4 separate regions of the Homo sapiens genome follow, and regions 1, 2 and 3 are each linked to region 4. Evidence: promoter capture Hi-C in human tissues and cell types (Jung and others, 2019). All regions are on one chromosome and are shown on one strand. Each heading gives the region's core, a stretch centred on a gene start or on the middle of the fragment in contact. The rest is flanking DNA. Distances are from core to core; before and after follow the strand shown. Region 1 overlaps GRIN2A (glutamate ionotropic receptor NMDA type subunit 2A). Region 2 overlaps GRIN2A (glutamate ionotropic receptor NMDA type subunit 2A). Region 3 has its middle 220 kb from the start of LINC01195. Region 4 holds the start of GRIN2A (glutamate ionotropic receptor NMDA type subunit 2A).

The links. Contacts are between HindIII fragments. The study calls those that stand out against the background at their distance.
Region 1: a fragment that was not itself captured here is called in contact with the fragment with the promoter of GRIN2A in region 4 in 1 of the 25 tissues and cell types used here (heart left ventricle).
Region 2: a contact is called between a fragment that was not itself captured here and the fragment with the promoter of GRIN2A in region 4, in 1 of the 25 tissues and cell types used here (heart left ventricle).
Region 3: a fragment that was not itself captured here is called in contact with the fragment with the promoter of GRIN2A in region 4 in 1 of the 25 tissues and cell types used here (lymphoblastoid cells).

What each region holds. Positions count from the first base shown.
Region 1 is chr16:9,755,524-9,758,595 of GRCh38, forward strand. It overlaps GRIN2A (glutamate ionotropic receptor NMDA type subunit 2A), which reads right to left. Exons shown (of 13, transcript NM_001134407.3): 13 at 1-3,072. Among named protein-coding and RNA genes, the nearest start is that of LINC01195, 300 kb to the left of the region's middle. The HindIII fragment of the contact is 8,168 bases long and covers 1-3,072 here.
Region 2 is chr16:9,915,751-9,918,530 of GRCh38, forward strand. All of the region lies in intron 3 of GRIN2A (glutamate ionotropic receptor NMDA type subunit 2A), which reads right to left. Among named protein-coding and RNA genes, the nearest start is that of GRIN2A, 270 kb to the right of the region's middle. The HindIII fragment of the contact is 9,405 bases long and covers 1-2,780 here.
Region 3 is chr16:9,671,509-9,674,213 of GRCh38, forward strand. No RefSeq gene overlaps it. Among named protein-coding and RNA genes, the nearest start is that of LINC01195, 220 kb to the left of the region's middle. RefSeq lists an enhancer at 2,440-2,705. The HindIII fragment of the contact is 4,732 bases long and covers 1-2,705 here.
Region 4 is chr16:10,180,979-10,183,678 of GRCh38, forward strand. It overlaps GRIN2A (glutamate ionotropic receptor NMDA type subunit 2A), which reads right to left and starts at 1,450. Exons shown (of 13, transcript NM_001134407.3): 1 at 899-1,450. RefSeq lists silencers at 538-647, 658-717. The HindIII fragment of the contact is 17,773 bases long and covers 1-2,700 here.

The DNA.
Region 1 (3,072 bases), core at 321-2,820, 430 kb before region 4:
CCAGAGAATTCATGGAGACTCCCAGAAAGACATTCCTTCAAATCCCCGCTAGTGTCCTCATCCATCAAATGGGCCTAATGCACCCCTCACCTCTCAGTAAATATAAATGCCAGGAAAGAAATGTGGCTTAGACCATGGAGAGGGGGGAATGCAGGAAAGGCAGTGTGTGCTCAGGGGCATGCCTGCAGGATATGTTAAACATTAGGCCATTCTGGGTACCTATAAAGCCCGGTGGAAGCGTTCCAGTTCAACACTCTTCAGTGGGACAGAATAACCGTCATTATCCTAATGCTAAGTGAGCCGGGAATTATCTCTAAGACAATTTGGAAAAGAAAAAAAAAAAGGAACAGACCAAGAAGGAAAACAACAACAACATTTTAATAGCTGGTCCTCAATCATTCTGACTACCAAAGCTCTCCATCATTCATGCAGAAACTCTATTTCCTATTCCCTGTCCCACCTCTGAAACTCATTCCATCTGCCTGGCAAAGATAACCAAACATAGACATGAAATAGGAGGAATAGTCAACTTGCAAATAATATCACCTCTTTGAACATGGGTCACAATATTTAGGAGGACTTTAATGGAGGGTCACATGGCTGTGTGTGTGTGTGTGCATACCCACACACATGAGAGCATGTACTATGTATATATGTTTAATGGAATTAGCCCTGATGTTGACTGATAAAAAGATGAGACATTAGGAAAGAGATATTTAAGATTAGGCACATGCTAAGTAGAGAAAATAACTCCCCAGAAATTTTTTTAAATGCTAAGTGCAAGCATATGAAAGGGAGACACAAACAGTGTTCAAGTCTCAGAAGGAACTATGAACAGAGGTGAGATCCCCAGAAGTTCTCCATACACACAGATCAGGCAATGAGGGGTAAGACCCTAACAGACTTCCCTGTCACAGAGGCTGATACTCAAGGGTATATGCCCAGGAACCTCAAAAGAGCACACCTCTCTTTCTGACTTCTATTCTGACCTCCCTGGAGGAGACCAGGCACTTTGAAAATATGTCTAACGTTAGGGATTTACTAGCTAATTCTAGTTGCTGACGAGGTTGAGAAAAACCTGAGCCTCAGTTTCCTTATCTGTAAAATGGGAGCAATCATATTTATATCTTAAGGTTGTTTTGAGGATCACATTCTAGGATATGCCTAGAATATCGCCTACACTCAATTTAGATATATTTTGATATTTTCAAATTCAGGTGCAGATCCATGGCAAGTACTTGCGATAAGCAGAAAATGTAACATTCCAAGAATGCACAGAATGGGATAGACAGAGTGACAAAAGCTCCCTCTCCACCTCGCCATCCTTCCTGAAATACACCTCTATTCCTTTTGCCATCTCTTTGCCCCGTTTTCTCTCTAGGGAACCTGATGCTTTCTGTCAGCCACAGCAGTAGGCACTTGGAACTTGATAAAGAATTTTCCCTCTATGCTTCCCTGATACATTCATACCCTGGTGTATCAGAAGGGTTCTTCAAATGTCAAAAACAAAACCAAACAAAAAAGCTTTAGGGAAATGCTTCGTCTTTTTACATCATGGTCTATTTTCTAATCCTTTGGGGAATTTTTTCAACCTTTTCTTGAGGCACATGTCATAATGCAAGGCTGGGAGGAGGCATGATTTGGCAAGGACTGGAGAACTGGTTGGAACCAGACAAAAGCCTTCCTGTGCAAAAATGTAGGAGTGTGAGTGTGTTCACCTGGTTAGCAGCTCCTGGGTCTCCTAAGTCCATTATTTGAAGATTAAAATAAATCAACTGCATTTCCGGGACCACTAACTCTATTCTCCGGAGTTACTTAAAGGTTTAGGGAAGGACTTTTTTTTTTTTTTTAAAAAAGGTATGCTCATAGAATCAGATTATTTTTTTTTTCCTGGCTACAACTTTAGTTGTCATTTCTAATTTTTGCTGTTTAGTCTCTGTTTGCATTGCATGGGTCCTTGGTTATCCTTTGTATTAGAGAACTGAACTTCTAAACCATAAGCTACTTATGGGAAGAGACTATATTTTCTATTTATTTTGCATCCCCTCCCCCACAATCCCAAACTGGCTTTCAAAATAAAGTGGACATTCAGTGAAGTCCTATTAGCTGGTCAATGTGCTTGGTTCTTCCTCAATGCATGATACATAGACCTCAATTATTTCAATGGTCACTGCCAGCCTTTTATCTTCAGTTTGAGGTTTTAAACAATATCCCTGTTGATTTTTCCTAAGGAGACGGTCTCTGAGAAAAGTTTTCTCTTCTAGGAACTTTAAGACAGGGATTGTGAGGGAGTTTAAAGGAAAACCAAATTCAAAGAAGCATGGGTAGGTCTTTCTGGGGCAAGTGGCAAAAACAAAAAACAAAACAAAACAAAAACCAGGGCAGCCTTATGGGGATCTCTGGCTCTTATTCCAGAGCTACTCAGGAGTTTCCCCTTGAAAGAAACCTAGAAATAAGTCAGCCCGGTCAGAGAATCGAGCCAGAAATTGAACCATGTCTTGGATCTAATCCTCGCTCTGATACTCTCTAACTTGATGATCTTAAACAGGCAACTGCCCATTTGTAAACTTCATTTTTCTCATCTCTCCTCCCCTTCTCCTAACTTTTGGTGTGGTTCTACGAACTCTATTTTTCTAAGACCCTTCTGGGCAGGCACTTCTAGCTAATACTATACTGAAAGTACTGCTGGGCACAGAAAGAGTGCAGGTGAGGAAAGAGGATAAGGAATTTAAATAGGAAATCTATGCCCTTTGATGTGTTTAAGGAAATCACACACAAGTCCATATCGGCATTGTCTTCAGAAGCAAATGCGAGCAGAATATATTCTATACCCCTCATCCCAGAGTTTTGTTTTTTAAAGAAGGGGCCAAGAACGCCAACACCCATATTCTACTTAGGCTCTGTCATCCTCCCTACAACTGAGATTAAAAAAATATAGTGCCCTCTCTACAGAAATATCCTCCCATAAAAATAACCAGAATGGGTTTTCCATGTGTTAATACCATCATCACCATTTAATTTTTAACATAAACTTTACAATATGTACAATTTTATTTGGATAATACACTTACG
Region 2 (2,780 bases), core at 202-2,701, 270 kb before region 4:
CTTGCTACTTATATAAACTAGTTGTTATTTCACCTCTTTGAGCCTCCGTTTTTTCATCTGTTAAATGGAGATACTAATGGCACCTACATGACAGGTTTGTTGTGAGAATTAGATTGATTAATAAATAGAATTTAGCACAGTATGCCAGACACACTCTAGGCACTTGATAAATGCTAATTACTGTAGATGTGATAATACCTTTGGTTGTTGTTAATTAATCAACATCTGTACTTCCTTCCTGGGATTATTGAGAGTGCTGCAACAATTTCTCATCTGCCAATTATTTGCCAACTTTGTCTTCTGGAGTTGGAGGCATAAGAGTTAGGTCAATCTCTTTGTGTAATCTTGGTTATATGATGTCACCTCTGTGAACATTATCTGTAAAATTGGAATAATCCCATGCAACTCAAAGAATTGTTATGAGGATTCAAGATTTTGTATATGAGTCTAAAACACTATATAACATTATTGTAATAATTATTAATTATGTCTAATTAGGAGGGTAATAAAGCAAAATGATCCCATGACCCCACAGATCCTCCCAACAGTCAAAAGCTTCATGACATGAGTCCTTGGAAAAAAAGAAGAGAAAGTTGCATTAAACATCACCCAACTTCTCAAGAGAACCAGAAATTGTGAGTAGGAGCTTTTCATACACCCTGAATCTGCCGGCACGTATAAATCGAGGTCTTCTCATTCTTCCCTCATTTTCAATACCACTTATTGGGAAGGAAGGTACTGAAATGAAAACAATTTGGAACCAAAAGGCACAACTCTCAGAGCCACAGCGATACAGTGACAAGTGAAATGGGCTTTCTAATAGTATCCTGCTGCGGATTAACAGACACCTGGTATTCCACCTCGGAGGTGGCTGGTGATGCAGCCTTCTTCACTAGGAGTCAACGGTCCACTCCTAGCTCTTTTTCCACCATCCTCCCTTTTCCAACCTTTCAAGGCATGACCTCTTTTCCACCAGTTCCTCCCCGCCACCCACATCCCATATATTAACAGAAGCCCTTCAAATATCTCCTCCAGCTTTTACAAGGCAGAGATGGAGTTGGTCATTTAACATATGAAAGGAATTTTCTTCTGGGGAGTTAAGTAAGTGATGTGAGGAAGTGATGAGCATCCTTTTGGCAGCTACTGCTCCATGGTGTCTCTTGGCCTTCAAACACCCAACTTTCCCTTTTGCAGAGGTAGCGTTGCCTAGTGGTTCATAGCAGACACTCTGAAGTGAGAAAGACCCGAAACTGAGTCTACCATGAGAATAAGTGTTTTTATTACCTTATAAACACTAAAATATTTCCCATCTCAGGGACTTTGCGCACTCTGCTCCCTTTGGCTGGAATGACTTTTCTCCGGCTCTTTTCATATCTGATTCTTCACCCTTCAGCTTTCAGTAGAAACATCACTTCTGCAAAGAGGCAAGAGGTGTGTTCCTTCCATCCTTCACGTTTTCCATCTCAGTACCCCATATCTGCCCTTCACAGGAGCCATAATATAGTGCAATTATTTTATGTATTTGATTCCTTACTCATTTTTGTTTAAATTCCCTATGAGATTATAACCCCAGGGGTCATGCTCTGTTGTTTTCACTGGTGTATCCCCTGTGGGGTTTGGCACTGAACACTAGGTAAATTCTTCAGATGAATGGATGAATGCAATTGTGACTGCTGTCCACTAACAATGTGACCTTGAAAAAGGCACTTGACTTTCCTAAGCCTCAATGTTCTTACATCTCAAAGGAGGATAATATCGCCTACCTCACAGCTACTTGGAAAACTGGACATGGAATGCACCACTGTTCTACTGCATCGGTTCCAAAATGCACATCTTTTGCACTTTAACTTTTTTGAAATAAAGATCTTATAATAGCTAGACTCTTCAGTCAAATAAAATATGTTAACATCTCACTCTTATACAGGACCCAAGTTCTTCTAACTTTTTAAAAACTTCCTTTGGAAAGACATGGTTGTGTGGTTGGATGTGTGTATTTACTGTTTAAGGACCAAGTTTACACCAGTACTCGTGCGTTCTGCTCCACAATTTCAACACGTCCTCCCTCTCACTCCCCGCCTAGAGATTGCTCCTTCTGCACTCTCTTAATGAGACTGTCGTTGTACATTTTTAAAAATTTTATTCTCAAAAGCCCCAGGGAGTTGGAATAATGAAACATACTTAATTAAGCTATGCAAAGCAATCCTGCCATCTAGGTGGCATTTTTTGTTCTATTTTCCTTGGTTATTCCGAGAATTATATTATTATATAAGAGCCAGCATTCATAGATCACTTACTGTGGGCCAGGTACTGAGCTAAATGTTTTACATGCTTTATTTAATTCTCACAAACTCCCCCACTGTGAGTGGGGACCAGCATTATTTCTATTTTACTGATGACAAAAATGAAGCTCAGATATATTTAGTTGCTTGCTCAAAGTCTCACAGCTAATAAGTGGCAGAAAAAGCTGAAATTTGATTCCAAAGCCTGTGGATGTACTGCAGTATCTCCCTATCCACAGGGAATATGTTCCAAGATCCCCAGTGGATGCCTGAAACTGCAGATAGTACAGAACTGTGTATGTATCATGTTTCTTCTTACACAGACATACATACCTATGATAAAGTTCATGAATTAGGCACTGTAGGAGATTAACAACAATTATTAATAAAATAGAACAATTATAACAATATGCTAGAATAAATGATATATAAATGTGGTCTCTCTCTTAAAATACTGTATTGTATATAATATTTTCAGACTATGGGTAACTGGAATCACAG
Region 3 (2,705 bases), core at 41-2,540, 510 kb before region 4:
ACTAGACAGAAGATGGTAGGGATGACAAGTTTTTTGGGGCACAGTCTAAGTTGGTCTGGCGTCTGGAATGAGACTGGGGCCTAATAAAAGGGAGCGTCTATACAGGAGCTTAAATGGGCTGTACCTTGTAGCATTCTGAGGACAGGCCTGAATTCTGAGAAGCGAAAGTGGTAAAAGTATTGTCCAGTCCTTTTTAAGTTGGTGGCTGAGCTTGGTGAGTTGTGTTTTTAAAAGACCATTAGTGTGTTCTACCTTTCCTGAAGACTGAGGACTGTAAGGGATATAAAGGTTTCACTGAATACTAAGAGCCTGAAAAGCTGCTTGGCTGATTTGACTAATAAAGGCTGGTCCGTTATCAGACTGTATAGAGGTGGGAAGGCTAAACTGAGGAATTATGTCTGACAGAAGGGAAGAAATGACTGCGGTGGCCTTCTCAGACCCTGTAGGAAAGGCCTCTATCCATCCAGTGAAAGTGTCTACCCAGACTAAGAGATATTTTAGTTTTCTGACTGGAGACATGTGAGTAAAGTCAATTTGCCAGTCCTGGGTAGGGACAAATCCCCGAGCTTGATGTGTAGGAAAGGGAGGAGGCCTAAACAATCCATGAGGGGTAGTAGAATAGCAGATGGAACACTGAGAAGTGATCTCCTTGAGGATAGATTTCCATGATGGAAAGGAAATGAGACGTTCTAAGAGACGGGCTAGCAGCTTGTAACCTACATGGAAGAAGTTATGAAATGACAACAGAATAGAATGGACCTGTGAGGCTGGCAGGAGATATATTCCTTGGTCTAAGAACTATTTGCCTTGTGTGGGAAGAGATTGATAGGTGGAAGTTTCAGCAGGGGAGTAGGTGGGAGTGACCAATGTGAAGGAGAAAAACTGGCCGTGAGGGACAGAAGTTGGAGAGCTAGCTGCTTGTCTAGCCACCTTATCAGCATAAGCGTTGCCTAGAGCAATGGGATCTGATGCCTTTTGATGCCCCTTGCAGTGAATGACCCCAGCTTCCTTTGGAAGTAAAGCGGCCTTGAGTAGAGTTTTTATTAAAGAGGCATTAATGATGGAGGACCCTTGTGTAGTGAGAAAACCTCTTTCAGCCCATATGACCGCATGGTGGTGCAGAATATGAAAGGCATATTTAGAATCAGTATAGATATTGACGCGTAGTCCTTTGCAAGAGTGAGAGCTTGAGTTAAGGCAACTAGTTCGGCTTGCTGAGAGGTAGTGGAGGGGGGCAGAGTGGTAGCCTCAATGATAGATGTGGAAGATACTATAGCATAGCCTGCCTTTGCTGGTGAGTGGCGATTAGGCCTGGTGGAACTGCCATCAATAAACCAAGTGTGATCAGGGTGAGAAACAGGGAAGAAGGAAATGTGGGGAAATGGGGTGAACATCAGGTGGATCAGAGAGATGCAGTCATGAGGGTCAGGTGTGGTATCCGGAATAATGTGGGAGGCCGGATTGAAGTCCGGGCCAGGAACAATGGTAATTGTGGGAGACTCAACAAAGAGTGAATACAGCTGAAGGAGCCGGGAAGCAGAAAGCATATGCGTCAGGTATGAGTAAGAAAATAGATTTTGGAAGTTATGAGAACTGTAGAGAGTGAGTTGAGTATAGTTTGTGATTTTGAGGGCCTCTAAAAGTATTAAAGCAGCGGCAGCCACTGCACGCAGACATGAGGACTAGGCTAAAACAGTAAGGTCAAGTTGTTTGGACAGAAAGGCTACAGGGTGTGGTCCTGGCTCTTGTGTAAGAATTCTGACCACGCTAACCATGCCTAGGAAGGAAAGGAGTTGTTGTTTTGTAGAAGGTGCTGGGGTTTGAGAGATCAGTCGGACACGATTGGCAGGGAGAGCACGTGTGTTTTTATGAGAATTATGCCGAGATAGGTAACAGATGAGGAAGAAATTTGGGCTTGACTGAGGTAATGGGGGCTGTCTGTGAAGCTTTGCGGCAGTACAGCCCAGGTAATTTGCTGAGCTTGATGGGTGTCAGGGTCAGTCCAAGTGAAAGTGAAGAGAGGCTGGGATTAAGGGTGCAAAGGAATAGTAAAGAAAGCATGTTTGAGATCCAGAACAGAATAATGGGTTGTAGAGGCAGGTAGTGAGGATAGGAGAGTATACGGGTTTGGCACCACAGGGTGGATAGGCAAAACAATTTGACTGATAAGGCACAGATCCTGAACTAACCTGTAAGGCTTGTCTGGTTTTAGGACGGGTGAAATGGGGGAATTGTAAGGAGAGTTTATAGGTTTTAGAAGCCTATGCTGTAGCAGGCGAGTGATAACAGGCTTTAATCCTTTTAAAGCATGCTGTGGGATGGGATCTTGGCATTGCGCGGGGTAAGGGTGATTAGGTTTTAATGGGATGGTAAGGGGTGCATGATCGGTCACTAAGGAGGGAGTAGTAGTAGTCTTATACTTGTGAGTCTTATACTTGTCTTATACTTGTGAGTTAAGGTGGGGAGATATAAGGGGAGGATGTGAAGGAGGCTTTGAACTGGGGGAAAAGGTGGCAGTGAGGTGCAGCTGTAGCCTAGAATAGTCAGGGAAGCAGATAATTTAGTTAAAGTGTCTCAGCCTAATAAGGGAACTGGGCAGGTGGGGATAACTAAAAGGGAGTGCTTAAAAGAGTAATGTCTAAATTGGCACCAGAGTTGGGGAGTTTTAAGAGGTTTAGAAGCCTGGCCGTCAATACCCACAGCAG
Region 4 (2,700 bases), core at 200-2,699:
TACGAGCCCGTCGTGTGCACCACACACTTTGCTCTACGCCCAGCCCCAACTACAGACCCGGCTCCTCTCAGTCAGAGTACACCCCAAGTGCTTGGGAGTGAGGACGCTGCCTGGTGGGCCCAGGCTCCGCTGTGCCTGGGGAACTTGGGGCTCGCCCCACCTCGAGCCAAGGGGCCGTGGAGAGTCCTTCACCCCTACACGCGCGCGTGCACACACACGTGCACACACACACGCACACACACATGTTCACACACACACACCCTCTCTCACGCGCGCCGTGTGCAATGCTGAATTCTGGAGAGTAGGCGCGTCCCCCCGCGGGCCAGCGCGTAGGAGCTGGCAAAGAACGTGCGTAGGGGGAAAGGTAGGCTCCCAAGAAGCTCCCAGACGGACGTGGACTGTACAGCCCCTCCCTAGCCTTTCTACTGCGGGCGCTGTTGCCAAGTCCTAGGTGCACGTGGGCAGTGGGCCGCACACGCTCATAGGCACGCGCGCTTTTCTGCGCACTTCCTCAGACTGCTGTAGCGGTGCCCACGGCCAGCCGGAGTCCTCACATGTCCTCAGGTGGTGCACACGCATGAACTGCGGCAGGTGCACAGCCCTGCGTACCTGCAAATACCAGCACGGTCGTGCACGCGTGCCCTGACGCGCGCCTCTCGGGACGGACGCTGCTGGAGCCGGGGGAAGTTGAGGCGAACTCCAAGAGGCCTCGACGTTCCTGGGTAAGCGCCGCGGAGCGCGGAGCCGCAGCGCCCCCTGGTGCCCCTCCTGCACTTCGCCGCTGGGCTCCCTCCCGCTTTCCCTCTCCCTCTCTAGCCTGATCCCTCTCCCGCTCTCCCTCCGGTCGAGTCTCCCTCCTCCCCGGCCCAAGGAGCCCTGATCTCCCTCTGGGACGTACCTGTAGCCCGAGAAGGTCGAGGATGCAGTGGGGCGCGCTGCGCGCACGAGCATCTCGGCCGCCTCAGCAGCCACCGGGTTTAGCGGGTTCCCGCATGCTGCGGCCCCAGCGCGCTCCCCTGGCTGTCCCGCGCTGTCCGCATCGCCCCCACGGGGGGCGGCTATCCCAGCCGGAGGCTCTGCAGCAGGGCTCTAACGGGGCGGAGGAGAGAAGGAGAGGCAGGGTCAGCCCACCAACGAGGGGAGGGAGGGTTGAGGGGAAGGCTGCAGTCTGCAGTGCTCACAAGCCCCCCTATGCGCCCAGGGGGGCTAGACAAGAGGGGGGAAGCTGAAGCCCGATGCCCACGACGCCCCCAGTGCGGATCCTCAGCCCCTGTGGCTGATAGCGGGAGCTCCACTCCAGGGTGCACAGGAGAATGGGAGCCCCAGGTTGGCCACCCACGAGAAGCTAACTGGGCACCTCCACCCGCACCCCCTACCACCTCCCCAGCGCCGGCTGCTGGGAGTTGTGCGACCGGGAGCTGCTGAGCGAGGGAGGTAGGGAGAGAAAGAGGAGGTAACGAGGGTGGGGGGGCGCTGGCTGAGTTTGTGACGAGCCAGCAGTAGGAGAGGGGGAGGGAAGGACGCGGGCTCCCGCGGTCCCGGTTCCCCGAGGGAGGTGGATCTTTCCCACGCAGCGACCCTCTTGTGATCCTGCCGCTTCCTCCCTCTTCAGGCCTCCCACCTCCCCCCTTCCCAAGGGGGCCTCCCAGGCCCGGCGTCCCGCGCTAGCACTCACCGCAGCCTCTCTCCACATAGTTCTCAGCAGTGGCCGCTCCTGGTCATCTCCAGGGCTGATGGCTGCGGCCGCGATTCTCAGCGCTCACCCGGTCCCATGATCCGGCCAAGCCCTAGGAGCTCCCCTCCAAGATCCCTAGCTCCGCTTCCTGCCCCACTCCGGACGGCAACTGCCCGGTCCTCTGAGCGCGCCGGAGCACCCTCTCCGCAACCCAGCTCCGGGCTGGTGTGTTTGAGGGCGAGTGTGTGTGTGAGTGTGGGAGCGCGCTCGCGTGTGGCCGGGGATCCCCGCGGTCCCCGGCCGAGAGAGGCGCGGGCGGGGAAAGGCAGCTCCCTCCGGGCCCTTCGCTGCTGGGCCAGCTCCGCGCCGGGCGTTCGGCTCCCCACTTCCCAGCGGGAGTCCGGTGAGCGCCTGGACACCCTGGTTCACAGCACTGGCAAAGCCGGGTTCCCGGGGCGTCTTTCTGCTGCGGTCGCCTCCGAGGAAGAGGAGAAGGAAGGTAGCGGCGCCCTCCACACCAACTTAGGGACTTGTTCTCAGCCGGCGAGACGCAGTAGCCCCCGCTCAAGCCCAAGAGGCTTCGAGCTCCGGCGGGCGAAAGCGTCTCCTGCCCGCAGCCTCTCTCCTAGGTGGGTCGAGACAGACCCCGCAGTCCCTCGGCGGCGACGCGGAGCGCGGCCACCCGTTCCGAGAGCGCACGGCGGCAAATAAGGCCAGGATAGGTGGCTGGCTGGCGACGGGGGCGCCTGCGGCGGCGCGCGCTGCTGTCCGTGGTGTTGGAACCACGCTCTCCGCCCGCTCCCGGGCGTCTGGTGCGGCTGAAGAATCAATTATTCAGATCTCTGCTACCGCTTCCTCCTCCCCCAGTGCCTCGCGCTGGGTACAGTTATCCCCCTCCACGCACAGGCGCGCCGACACACACACACACACACACACACACACACACACACACACAGAGTCTGCTCCAATGCTTCTCCCTGTGCCTCGCCACCCCCGTACGGGAACCCACTCCTCTGATCTCAGGG